Regions from separate parts of the Homo sapiens genome. Here region 1 is linked to region 2. The links are contacts of gene promoters, found by promoter capture Hi-C in human tissues and cell types (Jung and others, 2019). All regions are on one chromosome and are shown on one strand. Each heading gives the region's core, a stretch centred on a gene start or on the middle of the fragment in contact. The rest is flanking DNA. Distances are from core to core; before and after follow the strand shown.

The links. The method cuts DNA at HindIII sites, captures the fragments that hold promoters and counts their contacts. A contact is called where the count stands out against the background at its distance.
Region 1: a contact is called between a fragment that was not itself captured here and the fragment with the promoter of PRDM13 in region 2, in 3 of the 25 tissues and cell types used here (bladder, small bowel and spleen).

The regions. Positions count from the first base shown.
Region 1 is chr6:99,674,736-99,677,487 of GRCh38, forward strand. No RefSeq gene overlaps it. Among named protein-coding and RNA genes, the nearest start is that of PRDM13, 69 kb to the left of the region's middle. The HindIII fragment of the contact is 3,759 bases long and covers 1-2,752 here.
Region 2 is chr6:99,605,583-99,608,745 of GRCh38, forward strand. PRDM13 (PR/SET domain 13) reads left to right here and starts at 1,251. Exons shown (of 4, transcript NM_021620.4): 1 at 1,251-1,596; 2 at 3,159-3,163. The coding sequence starts at 1,453. The HindIII fragment of the contact is 8,735 bases long and covers 1-3,163 here.

The DNA of each region.
Region 1 (2,752 bases), core at 8-2,507, 69 kb after region 2:
GGACTCTTTTTCCAATTTGCCAGTAGTGTCTTTTAATTGGAGCATTTAGCTCATTTACATTTCAGGTTGATATTGTTATGTGTGAATTTGATCCTGTCATTATGATGTTAGCTGGTTATTTTGCTTGTTAGTTGTTATTTTGCTCACAGTTTCTTCCTAGCATCGATGGTCTTTACAATTTGGCATGTTTTTGCAGTGGCTGGTACCAGTTGTTCCTTTCCATGTTTAGTGCTTCCTTCAGGAGCTCTTGTAGGGCAGGCCTGGTGGTGACAAAATCTTTCAGCATTTGCTTATCTGTGAAGGATTTTATTTCTCCTTCACTTATGAAGCTTAGTTTGGCTGGATATGAAACGCTGGGTTGAAAATTCTTTTCTTTAAGAATGTTGACTATTGGCCCCCGCTCTCTTCTGGCTTGTAGAGTTTCTGCCGAGAGATCCACTGTTAGTCTGATGGGCTTCCCTTTGTGGGTAACCTGACCTTTTTCTCTGGCTGCCCTTAACATTTTTTCCTTCATTTCAACTTTGGTGAATCTGACAATTATGTGTCTTGGAGTTGCTCTTCTCAAGGAGTATCTCTGTGGTGTTCTCTGTATTTTCTGAATTTGAATGTTGGCCTGCCTTGCTAGGTTGGGGAAGTTCTCCTGGTTAATATCCTGCAGAATGTTTTCCAACTTGGTTTCATTCTCCTCGTCACTTTCAGGTACAGCAATCAGATGTAGATTTGGTCTTTTCACATAGTCCCATATTTCTTGGAGGCTTTGTTCATTTCTTTTTACTCTTTTTTCTCTAAACTTCTCTTCTTGCTTCATTTCATTCATTTGATCTTCAATCACTGATACTATTTCTTCCAGTTGATCGAATCGGCTACTGAAGCTTGTGCATTCGTCACATAGTTCTCGTGCCGTGGTTTTCAGCTCCATCAGGTCATTTAAGGACTTCTCTACCCTGGTTATTCTAGGTATCCATTCGTCTAATCTGTTTTCAAGGTTTTTAGCTTCTTTGCAATGGGTTTAAACTTCCTCCTTTAGCTTGGAGAAGTTTGATCATCTGAAGCCTTCTTCTCTCAACTTGTCAAAGTCCTTCTCCATCCAGCTTTGTTCCGTTGCTGGTGAGGAGCTGTGTTCCTTTGGAGGGGGAGAGGTGCTCTGATTTTTAGAATTTTCAGCTTTTCTGCTCTGTTTTGCCCCATCTTTGTGGTTTTATCTACCTTTGGTCTTTGATGATGGTGATCGACAGATGGGTTTTGGTGTGGAAGTCCTTTCTGTTTTTTAGTTTTCCTTCTAACAGTCAGGACCCTCAGCTGCAGGTCTGTTGGAGTTTGCTGGAGGTCCACTCCGGACCCTGTTTTCCTGGGTATCAGCAGCTGAGGCTGCAGAACAGAGAATATTGCTGAACAGCAAATGTTGCTGCCTGATCGTTCCTCTGGAAGCTTTGTCTCAGAGGGGTACCCGGCCATGTGAGGTGTTAGTCTGCCCCTACTGGGGGGTGCCTCCCAGTTAGCCTATTTGGGGGTCAGGGACCCACTTCAGGAGGCAGTCTGGCCATTCTCAGATCTCAAGCTCAGTGCTGGGAAAACCACTGCTCTCTTCAAAGCTGTCAGACAGGGACATTTAAGTCTGCAGTGGTTTCTGCTGCCTCTTGTTCGGCTATGCCCTGCCCCCAGAGGTGGAGTCTACAGAGGCAGGCAGGCCTCCTTGAGCTGCTGTGGGCTCTACCCAGTTTGAGCTTCCTGGACGCTTTGTTTACTTACTCAAGCCTCGGCAATGGTGGGCGCCCCTCCCCCAGCCTTGTTGCTGCCTTGTAGTTCCATCTCAGACTGCTGTGCTAGCAATGAGTGAGGCTCCGTGGGCATGGGACCCTCCAAGCCATGCGCAGGATATAATCTCCTGTTGTGCCGTTTGCTAAGACTGTTGGAAAAGCACAGTATTGTGGTGGGAGTGACCCAATTTTCCAGGTGCCATCTGTCACAGCTTCCCTTGGCTAGGAAAGGGAATTCCCTGAGCCCTTGTGCTTCCTGGGTGAGGTGATGCCTTGCCCTGCTTTGGCTTATGCTCGGTGGGCTGCACCCACTGTCCTGCACCCACTGTCCAACAAGCCCCAGTGAGATGAACCCAGTACCTCAGTTGGAAATGCAGAAATCACCCATCTTCTGTGTTGCTCACATTGGGAGCTGTAGACTGGAGCTGTTCCTATTTGGCCATCTTGTGCAAATAGACACTTCTAAAAGTAACTGTTGGACAGGCACAGGGATCATGGCAGCTTCAACTGTGATTTCAGTGTACACAGCACTTTAACAAATGTTGTTGATCTGAAATGAACTCTAAAGGGCCTATTTCTAGGACCTGTTGTGTTTTGTTGCATGGCTGGGTAGCTGAGGAGAAGAGATGGGGCATCTTCCTCTTGGAAGATGGCCATAATAGATTAATTAAACAAATAATTATTAAGTACTTACTATGTGCCATGCATTGTTGTAGTCTGTGCTTGAAGTACAATAGCAAAAAGACAGATGTGGTCTCTGTTCTCATGATGCTCATGGACTGGTATGGGATAGAGACAAATAAACAGAAAATTGCTCTCTGTGTTAATCAGAGTTATAATGGCAGAAAGCAAAGTGTGCTGAGAGGACAGACTGGTCCTGCAGGTAGTAGAAATCATCCATGTGTAGTCTAGACTAGGGAAACAAGCCTGGGGACTCTGGCCTTCACTCTCTTACTGGGGTTTTTGGACCTGGAAACATAAACCTTCATCTGCAG
Region 2 (3,163 bases), core at 1-2,500:
ACCACTCAGGCCTCTCTTGGAAGAACTGCATCGGGCTCCGGTGCTGGCTGCATAGGATTTGGGGAGCTGTGCTCAGAACTAGCAGCACGCGGCAGGTGCCGGCAGAAATCACAAATATCTGATGAACTTGATTACTTGGCTACTATTTATGAAAATAAATGTTCTCACGCCAATTGGAGGCTTCCCTAAAAGAAAACGGGTAGCTCTCCGGTTTAACTCTGAAGTACAACGTCTTGTTAGTTCACAAAGTAGGTGTAAGAAAGAGTTGTCCCAAACGCCCACCTCGCCCCTCTTCTCTACAACCTTTAACAGATTGCGGTGATTTTCGTTTTTGTTTACTGTTTTTTTTTTAATAGAAAAGTCCAGGTTGCTGGTTTTAGGGAAGTTAGTCCAAGGACATCTTCTAGGGGACGTGATCAATAACCCACTGGTAGAACTTCTTCCTCTTCAACCCTGGGCTGCGGACCGGGGCGCAGGATCCCCATTCGAAACTGTTGGTTCTGGGGCTGTTTCCCATTCTCCAGAGAAAGTGCAGGCCCGGGGTGTGCCCGAGAAAAGTGATGAGCAGTTGACCTCCCCTTCTCAACTTGGTCTGGAGGCTTCATCATATTTTCGGACGAAATGGGACAGAAGTGAGAATTAAAGCGGTTCTGAATAGACGACTGGCCTGAACCCAATCCCCTGAAATGGTAATATGGTTGTTATTTAAAAAGTGTAGGTATTTTCTGGTGTTTTCCCATCAAGTACCTGCCTAATTTCTGTATGGCACACGCCAGAAATCAATAGTAGTTAACAAGTCCTCCAAACAGTCTCCATCTCTTTGTTTAATCTCCTTTACAATAAAGCCAAGGGGAGAGAATTAAAAATCTTTGAAGTAGATCAAGGCTCAAAGGAATCAGCCAAGTAGACTTAAAGTAGTCACTTATTTCCCAAAACTGGTTTGTCGGGGAACAATAAAAGGAAGTAAAATTTATGGAGAAATTATACAGTGGATTTGTCACTTAAAATATCGTAACTGTCTGGAGGACAATACCCCATGCTGAGGATTAATGGTCCCGCCGGACCTTTGATTCACCAGTGCCTTTTCTTCGCCCTTGACAAATTGGATTTTTAGGAATGGGAAGGTCGCCTGGACCATTGTGTGCTAGCCATTCAGCGGCCTCGATTATGCAGGGGGCTGAGGGAACCACTCCATGTGACCCTCTCGGGTGGGACTCTGCAGCTGCTTCGCAGCGCAACTCTCTCACCAAACTCCGCGCCCTTGCGCTAGCGGTGCCAAAAGGCTCCCGCCCCGATTGAAAAGGCGCAGTGCATGCCCGCCCGCGTCACTCCGCGGGCGGAGGACGCACGTCGGGGCGCGGCTCTCTGGCTAGCGCGCAGCTCCAGCTCTGTCACTCGCGCCCTTCCAAGGACCTGGAGCACCCGAGCGCCTGCCTGGTGGCGGCGGCAACAATGCACGGAGCCGCCAGAGCGCCAGCCACCAGCGTGAGTGCCGACTGCTGCATCCCGGCCGGCTTGCGCCTCGGACCGGTGCCTGGTACCTTCAAGCTGGGCAAGTACCTGTCAGACCGCAGGGAGCCCGGGCCTAAGAAAAAGGTATTGACCATTCAGACCTCTGCCCACTGCCATTCGCCTCTCAGTGCCCTGACCCGGGAAAGGGGTACGAGAGAAAGTGGAGGAAGGGAGTGATTGAGTCGTTACCTGCTAATTCTGCCGGGTGGAAGGGGACTCCTATTATTCTGAGCAAGTAGCCTCTTTAACTGTGAGAGCTGGACGGGGTCGGGCTGAGAGGAGAGGATGTGGCCGAGAGGCGACAGCCCTGGGTGGGGTGCACTGAGCGCTGTAGGTGCCGGGACCATTCGCAGCTTGTGTTTTCCCCTGCGCTCTCGGGTCTCCTCAGTCAGAAGCCAGAAGCCCACCCCCGCACGCTGTCCGCAGCTCTCTCTGCAAAAGCACCCTCTTTCTGGGGGCTCAGGGCATCGAGACCCTTTCTTCCCTTCTGCCCTTCAATATGTTAATTTGAGGCCTAATTTCGCCTTAAAGTAATTTTTTTTCCTGAAAAAAAAAATCTTTGGGAGGCTCTCAGTTCCTAGAACCTCCTCAGATATTTTTTTTTCCCTTGCCGATGTCGGCTTGTGGGTATGCGGCATATGGAGAGAGGATGAGCAAGGTACTGGCTCTGACGCGGGCTCCAAGGGCGAGGCGCGCCCATTCGCGCGGGGCACAGGGTCAGAGCGTCTGCAGCGGGGCTCTGAGAGTCCAGAGGCCCAACCGGGAGGCGCCAGGGCCAAACCACTAGCTTTGACTCCCACACTCCACACACCGTCGCGACCCCTGACCAGAGAGACTTATAGCACTCGCCCGCTTTGGGGGCGTCCCAGGAGCCAAAGGTCGGCAAACAGCGACCGGGAAATGAAGGCAGAAGTCTGGGGTAGAAGAAAGGACTTTGGCTTCCTTGGCTTTAGCTTGCCTTGCTTGGAGCTTTCTAGTAAAAAGCTCCGGTGTCCAGCCAGCGGGACTTGCACCTCGCTCCTCCTGCAATCACGCCCCCCACTACAGTCTAAAGCGGGGTTTGGTGCCCACCGCGCATTCCTCTTTAAACGCGTTTTAATTGCTTTTAAATGGCCTGCCAGCTGCGGGCAAGCTTTTCCCCGCTTGGGCTTTGTTCCGAGACTTTAGCTGCAGGGCTCACAGGCAACTAGGTGCGATGCACACAGAATACAGGAGGCATGAGATAATTTTTTTGTTTGTTTGTCGGGGGTACGCTCTGGGCCCTGGGACTGACCTAGAAATGTCTCTACCGTGGTGTTACGGCTGCTCTCAGAACTGCAAATGGGAGAGCTGGGGTAGGGGACAACTTGGTACAAGATGTGCCTAAGCACTCAGGGAGGATGCTCTCAACACCCCTCTCCCCTCCCCGTGTCGTCAAGGTGGGGCGCAGGGAAGTGGGAGTACTGTTAGCATAGGTAGACTTTCCTCTTTCTCCCTCCCCGAAGCAAGGTCCTAAGGAATTCTCCTCCTCCCAGTAGCCCATAGTGGTCTGGCCAAACCAAAAACAACCACTTTCCTGTGTTGGGTTGGGGTGGAGGATAAACTTTCTGTTTGGGTTGTGGGCCTGGCCAAGGTGCGGGGGAGAACGACCACTGCTTGTGTTGCAGGTGCG